3 separate regions of the Homo sapiens genome follow, and regions 1 and 3 are each linked to region 2. The links are contacts of gene promoters, found by promoter capture Hi-C in blood cells and fetal thymus (Javierre and others, 2016). All regions are on one chromosome and are shown on one strand. The core of a region is centred on a gene start or on the middle of the fragment in contact, and the rest is flanking DNA. Distances in the headings are between cores, read along the strand shown.

Region 1 (3,741 bases), core at 132-2,631, 7.5 Mb after region 2:
GGGAGGTGCATATGCTTAGGGCCTCATTACTCTCGGGATTCAACTGAAGTGTAGTCAGTTTTAAAACCTTTTTTTTTCCTTTTAGTTTCTAAGGAGTTACTGTGTGAAGGCCACTGAGAATAACTTCAGCAGGGCTACTAGGAGACAGCTTAGTACTTTCACTCTTCCTGTAAGGATTGTTTGCAGGACCTCACTTCAGCCAGCTGGCGGAACAAAGGCATAGAACCTTAGCATTTTATGAACCAAAAAGGCCTCTGAGGTTCCCTACTCTTAGCCACCCTTAGAATCTGCCACATTCGTGGCCTGGGTCCCTGGATCATAACCAGCTGGCACAGAGCAACAGGGGAGAGGGAGATAAAATCAGGGCCCTCACTGGCTGTGCATGTAATTCACAGGAAACTCTGAGTTAATAGAAAAGAAAGGTCAGTCCAGTAATGAGCTTCCAAGAAGCCTCCCTAGGAGAGGGATGGTGCTGTCAGCTGCTGCCGGTTCCTCCCTGAAGCCCTACCTGGGCTTCAGGAGGGGAACACAACCAGGGTTTCTCAGGAGAGTCCTGGTGATGCCCACTGTCCAGGCACAGCTCTTAACAACATCCTATTTCACTCTTCAAAGTGCCACCGTTTGTAGGCTAAATCACATGGTCTTTCTAAGGAAGGGTGACTGAGTTTCTAAGGGGAATACACTTTCCAGGGCCACCACTGCCCTCGCGATGTAGAGCATGCAAATTCCTAACATGTTCCTGTGTGCGCAGACGGCAGAGGAAGCAGAGCATCGAGGTGGGGTACACACTGGAACCAGACTGCCTGGGTTAGCATCTTAAGCCCTCACACTTAACAGCAGTGTTAAGTGTTCACTTCCCATTTGAAACAAAAATGAAGATAAAAGTAATTGCTAGCAGGATTAATGAGATAACGTGTAACATTTATAGAACAGTGCCTGGCAGTTACCCTGGAGCACTCTATGAATGTTTAGTAAGCAAACATAAATATGCAGTTCTATGTCTAACAGGTAAGTAAATTTCTACAAAGGGATGGTGAGGCAGGGGAGGAAAGCACTTCTCAAAACAGTCTTTGGATTGCCCTTCCTACTCAAGGACCTCTCACTAACACAGAAACCCCTGCGCATGTGAGATTCTGGATGGTGCTAGATAGGGCCAGGGTGCTGGGGGTGGGAACAGAGTCACCACTGCCACAAGGCCACCCCTTAATTTCAGGTGGTTTATGATCAACCACGTGGCAAATTTATACACTGAAACCAGCTCAGGCAGAACAAAGGAACAAAGACAAATTTCCCAGGTTGCAGCCGGCAGTCAGAAGCCAGAAGCCACCAAATAGCTCCCTGGGTTGCTTTTATGCACTCAACCTGAAGAGAGCCATTTGCCATGGCACATGCTCCACACCTACGACTGCACATCCATGTATGTGATTCAGGACTTCAGAAGCATCACAGGTATTCATCAGAGCACCCCACCAGAGATGAAAAAATCTCAAATATAAATCTCATACATAAAATTTCATGTGATAAATGATGAAGAAATCTCCTTAACTCCTCAGAGAGACGCCTCTCCAGCACAAAGTGGTGGTACTTAGGATAATCATCATGTCAAAGTGGGTGACATCACACTGTCCCCTCTGAAACAATCATCTAATATTTGACTGTGAAAGTATCATCTTAGGCATTTAGGTTTCAGTTTTACATCACACTTCTGCCTTTAAGGTCGTTTCAACTTTGCAGACATGATCTGAACTCCTATTAAGAGGATACATTCCTATGCAACGAAACAGCTATTTTGGAAAGAATGGAGTCACTGAGGCCGTCTAGGCTACATATAGGGCACAGAACCACTCAGACAGAAGGCTTGGGAGACATGGGTGGCACAAACTAGAATGAAAGAAACGCTAAATAATTTCATCAAGTGCCGATTAAAAAAGATTGCAGGGCCGGGCGCGGTGGCTCACCTTGTAATCCTAGCACTTTGGGAGGCCGAGGCGGGCGGATCACCTGAGGTCAGGAGTTCGAGACCAGCCTGACCAACATGACGAAACCCCGACTCTACTAAAAATGCAAAAATTAGCCGGGCATAGTGGTGGGCGCCTGTAGTCCCCGCTACTGGGGAGGCTGAAGCAGGAGAATAGCTTGAACCCAGGAGGCGGAGATTGCAGTGAGCCAAGATCGCGCCACAGCACTCAAGCCTGGGCCACAGAACGAGACTCCATCTCAAAACTAAAGAAATAAATAAATAAAAATAAAAAATAAAGATTGCAAGTATAGGTACACACATTAAGGTACAAGCACATCTGTTTTCATGCGATTACTGGTCTCTGATTCACTTCTTTGTTCTCTATGGTGAGTCACTCAGAGAATGTGATTCCTAAGGTTCTAAAATTCTGAATAAATGGAAAGAATGCAAGCAGAGGCACTCCACAAAAACATTAAATACCAAGCTACGGGGATATTTCCGAACAGAAACAGGAAGTCTCGGCTATGGCAGAGCCTGGAGCAAGGAGAAATTTGTCCACCAGCCTTCCTTTCAGGAAACACTTTTCCTCCAACATTTTGTAATAATTACTTTTTAATAAAGGGCGAAGACAAACTAGTAATTTCCAGCACCAATCACTAACTATTAAGGAAGATAGTTTCACAACTTCCTAAAACAGAGGCATGGGATTCATTACCTATTTCTTTTGACTTCATTAATTTAACGCAAATTTCCTTCAGAATAATGAAACTAAGGAGAAAGTTGAACAAGCCCTGATTCAGACTGGACACCCCAGAATTCCTCTAGTTCGCATTTTAAGGAACCTGCTTTAGTGAGAAGTATGTGGCCCCATCCGAGGATGCAATTTCACAGCCAGGAGCAGCCGCGGTCCCCGCCAGGGATGCGGTCACGGGCGCTCGCACCCGGAAGCCGCTCAACAAGTTCCCCGCCGGCTTCGGCTCCGCACCCCCACCCAGCCAGGCTCTCCGCAGAATTTCCTCCCCGCACCTAAAGGCTGCACTTCATTTTCACACGCGGGAACGCCTCCTCCCGCTGCTCACCTCCACAACTCCCGGCACTCCCGCGACACTTCCCCACAGTCCCCTCCGCCCGCTCCCCTCACCCCGGCTCGGCACCCATCCTTTCCTAACCCCAAACTGCCCGGCGCCCCGGGCTCTCCGCGCCTGCGCCGCGCCCGAGGACCACCCCCGCCCAACCCCGGGTCCATCCGATCCTCGGCCCTCTGCGGCGGGGAGAGGGGGCGGACGGTGCACAAAGGTCACCCCGAGCTAACGGAGGCGGTCGGCGCGGGAAACGCGCTCACCCGCAGGGTGGGGGCGGGGTGCGAAAACCGAAGGAACGACGGAAGGCGCGGACCGGGGCGGGAGCCTCCCCGTCACCAGGGTCCCGCACCTCCCAGCTCCGGGAGGCGCGCAGGGCTGTGGCTCCCCGTCGCTCCACCGTCTGCGCTCCCAGGCAAGGTCCTCTGGGGCGCCTCGGAACTGCGCGCCCCCAGCCGCCAGCATGGTGGGCGCCGCGCCTCCGGCAGCACCCGGTCCCCGGCCCCTACCTCCAAGAGCAGCCCGAGCAGCAGCGCCGCCACCTTCGCAGGCTGGCGCCTCATGGCTCCTCGCGTCCTCTCCAGCGCGCCCGGACGCCGGGTCGCAGGCGCGCTTCGCGACTCGGCCCCCGCGCGGGGCGGGCGGGCAGACTGCAGCCGGGAGCCGTCCCGCCGACCGCTGGGGGGCCCGGCTGGGAGCGGG
Region 2 (3,434 bases), core at 902-3,401:
TCTAAAAGGAAGAATTCCTAGAAAACTCATGAATAATCCACCCTTATTTAGTATATGATCAAGAAATAACCATAAAAATAGCCAACCAGCAGCCCTAGAGGCTGCCCTGCCCATGGAATTGCCATTCTTTTATTCCTTTACTTTCTCAATAAGCTTGCTTCTTTCACTTTACTCTGTGGACTCACCCTGGCCCCGAATTCTTTCTTGCACAAGATCCAAGAACATTCTCTTGGGGTCTGGATTGGGACCCTTTTCCGGTAACAAAACTAAAACTAAGTTGTTAATCTACCTTCAGAGAGAGAGAATAGCAACTTCCTAACCAGGCCAGTTTCAGTCTTCAGTCTGAGGCAGCAAAATAGGGTCTGGAGGCAGGGAACATAAGGCCGATTCACACTTTAGCTATGACAGGAAATAGCCTCTGCGTAGGCCAAGTAAATGACTTTGTAACTTTGCATCATCCCTTTCATTTACATAGTGTGTGCCCCAAGCGGAGGACATTGAAACTCCCCAAAATTCTGGAATGGGGCCTTTGAGCCCCTACGCTCAGGCCCGCTCCCACACTGTGGAGTGTACTTTCATTTACCTTTTTTTTTTGAGATGGCGTCTCACTGTGTCACCAAGGCTGGAATGCAGTGGCATGATCTCAGCTCACTGCAACCTCTGCCACCCAGGTTCAAGTGGTTCTCCTGCCTCAGCCTCCCAAGTAGCTGGAATTACAGGCACCTGCCACTGTGACCGGCTAGGTTTTTTTTTTTGTTTTTTTTTTTTTTTTACTTTTAGTAGAGACGGGGTTTCACCATCTTGGTTAGGCTGGTCTTGAACTCCTGACTTTGTAATCCACCCGCCTCGGCCTCCCAAAGTGCTGGGATTACAGGTGTGAGCCACTGCGCCTGGCCGTACTTTCATTTTCAATAAAACCCTTAATTCCTTCCTTGATTTGTTTGTGTGTTTCACTCTTGTCACCCAGTATGGAGTGCAATGGCGCGATCTCGGCTCACTGCATCCTTCGCTGGGTTCAAGCAATTCTCCTGCCTCGGCCTGCCTAGTACCTGGGATTACAGGCACGCGACACCACGTCCAGCTAATTTTTTGTATTTTTAGTAGTGACGGGGTTTCACCATGTTGGGCAGGCTGGTCTCGAACTCCTGACCTCAGGTGATCCATCCGCCTCGGCCTTCCAAAGTGCTGGGATTACAGGCGTGAGCCACCACTCCCGGCCCAACCCCATGTTTTCTCAGGAACTGGAGTTCCCTTTAGGAAGCAAGTAACAGAGGTGCTGGGCTGCCCGGGCCTCTAGGTCGTCTTCTTTCCCAGGCTCTGTGCTCTCACCAGAGTGCGCGTTCGGGAAGCAGGGAGAGGACCAGGAAAGACGCCTGAGACGGAGAGTGGGCACCGGCCGGGGGCAGGCAGGTCCGGCCCCTGGGGGTCAGAGTGCAGCGCCGGTTTGAGGCAGTTCGGCCACTTAGCTGCGACTCGAAGTGAATGAGTCACTTCCCCTCCTCGGGCGAGCTCCTGGCTTTGCCCCAGCAAGCGGGAACTCCCAGGATCAGGAAGGTCCCAGAGAAACTCCCCAGGGGGGAAGCCGAGGCCGTCCAGAGAGATCCAGGGTACACACAGTGACAGTGCCAGCTCCACATTCCCGACCACCGGGCCAGGGCTGGTTCCACGCTGTCATTTCTCTCCGCTGGCCCCAGCCGCGGGGCCACCGCCAGACAGACAGACCGGGGATCCTGCCTGGCGGCGTGACCTTGGGTTAGTCCTAGAGCCGCTTCTAGCCCGGTTTCCTCCGCCCCAGGTTAGGACCACGTGGGTAAGAAGATTTCCTCTGTAGTAGGGGCTGTTTAATGAGTAACAGAACTGGCTGCTGGTTCTTTACAATTGCCCAGCTGCTCTGCAGAGGCGAGAAGCAATTGCGGGCTGAGCCTCCCGGGACCTTCGCGGGAGGGTGGAGAGGAGGAAGGCGGGGGAGGCGGGGCCAGAGGGGCAGAGGAAGGTGGGGGCGGGCGGGGCTTGTCTGCGGGATGGCCCAGGATGCGGTCAGCTGAGTTCGCCGGCCCAGGGCAGGCGGGGCCCGAGCCTAGCGGTAACCCCCGGGCAGGGCGGGGCCGCTCGCAGACTCCATATGAGATTCACCTCGCAGGTGGTTCCCTCATTCGAGTGCTCCGGCGCACAGACCCGCGCCCCGCCGTCTGCGAGCCTCCCGAGAGCCGTCCCTTCGTCCGGCCCTGGAGCATTGCGTTTGTCGCCGGTGTCGCAGTGCGAGGATGGCGCCGCGGGTGTAGCGGCTCTCTGCGCAGGCCGAGTGGTGAGTCGCCCGCGGCCCGGCTCCCGCCGTTCTCTCTTCCCAGGGGTCTAGCCCGTCCCCTGCCTTGGCCACGTGCCCATTTACCTGTAGGGGCGGTGACGGAGGCTCTGGTGCACCTTGGCTGTGAGCTGCAGAGGAGCAGAGAGCGGCCCGGCGCGGCTGCGCGGGGAGGCGGGCGCGCGGCCGGGAGGTTCTGGGGCTGGTGTGTGCGGAGCGAGGTGGGCGTGGGGGAAGCGCGCGGGCGGGATGTGCTTCCTCGGGTCCACCCCGTGCCTACCTCTCCCACGTCCCGGCGACGGAGCGCGCGGGGCTCTGGGCGGGGAGCCCACCGGGCCGAGGCGCAGCGAGGGTGAAGCCAGAGCCGGCAGGGTCAGGTCCCGCAGGGCGCAGGCGGGCGCTTCTCGCAGCCCAAACCCGGGCGGGGAGTGCGGGAACCCCTAGAACTATGCTGGGAGCCCCAGATAAGAGGAAGGAGATGGTGACTTAAGTGACGAAGTGATGTTTTGTCCCCACCGCCTTTTAAAGGGAGAAGGGGGTAAAATTTCATTTGGAGGATGATTGTTACGCGAGCTTTCAGAGTTCAGATGGCGTCAAGTGGCCATCGAGTCAACATTTAACAAAATGTTACCGCATAAAATATTGTCATCGAGTTATCTGGCAGCTCCGCAGAGAAACTTCACAGGCATATGCGTTATATGACATAATTTGCATGGGGAAGGGGGTCCCTTCACGATTCTTTTATATGGCAACCTGTTCTTGGACCTGGCAGGGCCCAGAGAAGCGAGGAACTCCGCAGCTCGTCGACACGTCTCGTCTCCTGTCCCAATTCAGGGCTTGGTGAGGTGACTCGCGGTCGCGGGTGACTCGCCGGCAGGACACTGCCTGGAACGCCTGGAGCGCCTCCCACTGCAGACGTCTGTCCGCCTCCAGCCGCTCTCCTCTGACGGTCAGTTTCAAAGAAACACAGTCTGGGATCCGGAGTAGAAAGAGGCCGTTTCCCGTGAAGGCCATAGAGGCAGTTTCCAGGCGCCTGGGTGACCTGTCTCTGCACTTCCCTCTCTGCTTCTCCATCCCTGTTTCCTTTCCCCACTGTCCCCTGCCTGGCCTTTCTTTGGCTCATTTTCTGCCT
Region 3 (3,274 bases), core at 596-3,095, 5.2 Mb before region 2:
CCTTATGTTTCTAATTCGTGCATCGAAGAAACCGAAAGCGGGAGGTTTTGAAAGACACTAGTGCCAAATGGAGACCAAGACTCCGACTTAACTGTAAAGCTGAGAGTTTTCCAAGAAAAGGGAACCCCACATATTTGACCAAGATTCCAAGTTTCAGAAACCACCGCATCAGGTCTACTTGAGCCAGGAAAAAAATCCTGAGTTCGGAACGGGCCACCCAGAGATGGTTAAGCTAAAACTGCCTTCTTTTCTGGTCTCCAAAGTGAAAGCGAATCCTTGGCTATGTGCCTCACCGTCCCGCAGCCCCATGTTAACCCCGCAAAACCGCATCCCCCCGACCCTCCAGCAGCCTCCGACCAAGGAAGCTCCAGGAATCCCGGGTCGGCCTGGCAAATGACTTTGCAAAGCCGCATTTCCAACTCCATTCCCTACTGGACCCTCCAGAAGCACCAATGCCGACGTCAGGATGGGAAAAACTAAATCGACAGAGTACCAGCAACCTCGACTACGCTGAAGACCTCGAGGGCCCCTTCCATACCTGAATGTAGTCAGCGAAAAGCTGTACCCGCGCTCCGCCATCTTTACCCGAAGAGCCAAAGCACAGCCGCACACATGCGCACTGTGGCCGATTTCCTTTCATTTCCCCGCCCCTCACCTTTCCTTTACTCTCTATGATTGGAGGAGAGTCAGAGCTGCTCCAAGAGCATGCGGGGTGTTGTAGTTCTAAGAAGCGAGGCTTGCCCGATTCTGTGCCTGTGCGCATGCTGAAAGCAGGGGCGGGACCGGGGCGGTCTTCCAGCAGGGAAAATGGCGCTGGCCATGCTGGTCTTGGTGGTTTCGCCGTGGTCTGCGGCCCGGGGAGTGCTTCGAAACTACTGGGAGCGACTGCTACGGAAGCTTCCGCAGAGCCGGCCGGGCTTTCCCAGTCCTCCGTGGGGTAGGTAAAGAAGGGCTCCGTGGGAGAGGGGGCTGATGACGGGACCTCGGGCAGCGTAGCAGACGCAGCTTACACAGTTCGCCCTCAGCCCCGGTTCTGATCCGCGGCCTCATGTCGGGGACGTAGTTCGTGACATTCCCATATTAGCGAGAACAGAACGACTGTTTTTGCGCTCCCTCCACCGCAAAAAAAAAAAAAAAAAAATTCCTCTGCTTGTTCCATTCGTACACAGAATGTAACCCAAGCTTGTGTCAAAGATAAATCATAGCCAGCCAGTAAGTAAAGCGCTGAAAACAGATTTTATTCAGTAACTACTGCAGGTAAAGAGCTGAGCTCCATCCCGGTTTGTGCAGAGGTGACTTTGGGCGTTTTAAAGGGAGAATGAGCGAGGCGGGAGTGTAGGGGCTCTGTAGAGTCAGAGAAGTGTAGTATAGTGAAGTCAGTGCAAATGTGATTAGCCGGCTGTGTCTGCTAGCTCGCAGTTGTCTTAGGGAGAATTCTATCCTCCCGCAGAGACTGGGAGACAAAGGCCCTATCCTTCCTAATGATTAGATTTCGAAGGAATGGCTCTCAGGGCCTTGAAAGAAAAGCTTCCGAGTTAGTTGCAAGGGATACGTATTTACAATTATATGCCCTTTCCAGGAAATGCTCTAAGGGAGTTCGGGACCTACTATCGGGGTATGTTGGCCAAAATAAATAGGAAATTTTCCAGGCAGCGTTGAGCTTTCTCAGGCAGGCACTTTAAAGGGGGGGCCGAGGTCATCCTAGGATACAGCCTTATGCTGCTAGAAACTATGCTAGAGTTTGGTCAAGTCTGTGGAGTTCAGGGATTTGTACAGAGTTGTCCTGAGAGGACAGTTCTGCAGGTCTCACTTGGCATCAAGGCTCACCACTCTCTGGATCTGTCTTTCCTTTCCAGCCCTGCCCTCACCTCCCCTCCCGCTTCCCCTCTCCCCCCTCTCCTCTTCCCTTCCCTTCCCTCCCTTCTTTCCTCCCTTCCTCCCTCCCTCCCGCGCAGTACATGTTTTCTGTGGTGTTTGAGCTCTGAGGAGCTGAATTCTGTTTCCCATGTTTCACTTGGAATTAATTTTAATTGGAAGTATCTTGGATGTTGAAACTGTCATGGCTTTGGCATTTACATTCTACTCAATTTCTAAGCAGCCTGAAAGTGATAATATCCAGAAATATACCAAGAAAATATATGCCACTATATGCCAAGCAATGTGCCAAGCTTTCTACATGTACTTCCTGGGATAATCTTGACAACAGTCCCATTAGGTGTATACACTTTCCAACTGAAACAGTAGGCTCACAATGGTCCCAAGTTCACAGACAGTCCTGAGCCTGTGTTGTTAATCACCGGGGCATGCTTGGCAATACTTGTGGACATACTGAAAATAAATGCCAGTTGTTAAGTGTTAGAGAACTTTGTGTATTTTTAAGAGTTCTTAAGATCAAAAGAAGTATGTGGGCTGGGCGCGGTGGCTCACACCTGTAATCTCAGCACTTTGGGAGGCCAAGGTGGGTCCATCACCTAAGGTCAGGAGTTCAAGACCAGCCTGGCCAACATTGTGAAACCCTGTCTCTACTAAAAATACAAAATTAACCAGGCGTGGTGGTGCACACCTGTAATCCCAGCTACTTGGGAGGCTGAGGCAGGAGAATCACTTGAACCAGGGAGGCGGAGGTTGCAGTGAGCCGAGGTCACGCCACTGCACTCTAGCCTGAGTGACAGAGTGAGACTCAGTCTCAAAAAAAAAAAAAAAAAGTATGGCACGTCTAAGAAATAGCAAGGAAAGGGTAAAGGAATGTTGATTTTATAAGCAATTCAGAAAAAGAGAAACTTTGATAGTCACATAAATAAGGCCATACAGAGAAATGGTGAGCTGGCTCTTTTCTTTAGAGAGCAGACAGGAATCAAGATTAAATGTTATGAGGAACTAAGTGACTTAAGAGGTTGTATCATAAAGGACCTGACTCAGTTTGAATATAAGAAAAGGCAATTGGCAGTTACATCAGTGCCGGTCAGAAGTGTATTCAGGAAATCTGTCTAGATTTACTTGTAAATTAATCAGGTACTTACTACCCGCCAAGTATTAATAGAATGTGGACAGTTGAGTGATTCTTTGCTTGTTTTGTTCAAGTTAGGTGCCTATCAGAGTCCTGTATTTTATGAGATAAGAAACTTGATGGAATTTCACTGATCTTCTTTTCAGCAGGATCCGCTAAGAAAAAATTCTGTGTTCCTTAAAATTGTATAAGCTTTAGTGTATTTTAATAGCTAAGGTTTCTCATTATTGAGTTTCACATTCTAAATTTTATATATAGTTTTTGTGT

Evidence for each region. Contacts are between HindIII fragments. The CHiCAGO score rates a contact against its expected background, and 5 or more counts as called.
Region 1: a fragment that was not itself captured here is called in contact with the fragment with the promoter of UPP1 in region 2 in 2 of 17 cell types (non-activated CD4 T cells and naive CD8 T cells); the score reaches 9.8 in non-activated CD4 T cells.
Region 3: a contact is called between a fragment that was not itself captured here and the fragment with the promoter of UPP1 in region 2, in 1 of 17 cell types (non-activated CD4 T cells). The highest score is 5.6, in non-activated CD4 T cells.

Annotation. Positions count from the first base shown.
Region 1 is chr7:55,568,723-55,572,463 of GRCh38, forward strand. It overlaps VOPP1 (VOPP1 WW domain binding protein), which reads right to left. Exons shown (of 5, transcript NM_030796.5): 1 at 3,549-3,741. The coding sequence starts at 3,602. Among named protein-coding and RNA genes, the nearest start is that of VOPP1, 1.9 kb to the right of the region's middle. RefSeq lists silencers at 1-6, 154-448, 3,034-3,741 and an enhancer at 2,774-2,833. The HindIII fragment of the contact is 5,325 bases long and covers 1-3,741 here.
Region 2 is chr7:48,087,114-48,090,547 of GRCh38, forward strand. UPP1 (uridine phosphorylase 1) reads left to right here and starts at 2,152. Exons shown (of 9, transcript NM_003364.4): 1 at 2,152-2,305; 2 at 3,075-3,251. RefSeq lists enhancers at 1,155-1,684, 1,497-1,706, 2,217-2,746 and silencers at 1,847-2,186, 2,527-2,716. The HindIII fragment of the contact is 3,480 bases long and covers 152-3,434 here.
Region 3 is chr7:42,931,580-42,934,853 of GRCh38, forward strand. MRPL32 (mitochondrial ribosomal protein L32) reads left to right here and starts at 797. Exons shown (of 3, transcript NM_031903.3): 1 at 797-937. The coding sequence starts at 808. It overlaps PSMA2 (proteasome 20S subunit alpha 2), which reads right to left and starts at 595. Exons shown (of 8, transcript NM_002787.5): 1 at 539-595. The coding sequence starts at 579. RefSeq lists an enhancer at 746-975. The HindIII fragment of the contact is 641 bases long and covers 1,526-2,166 here.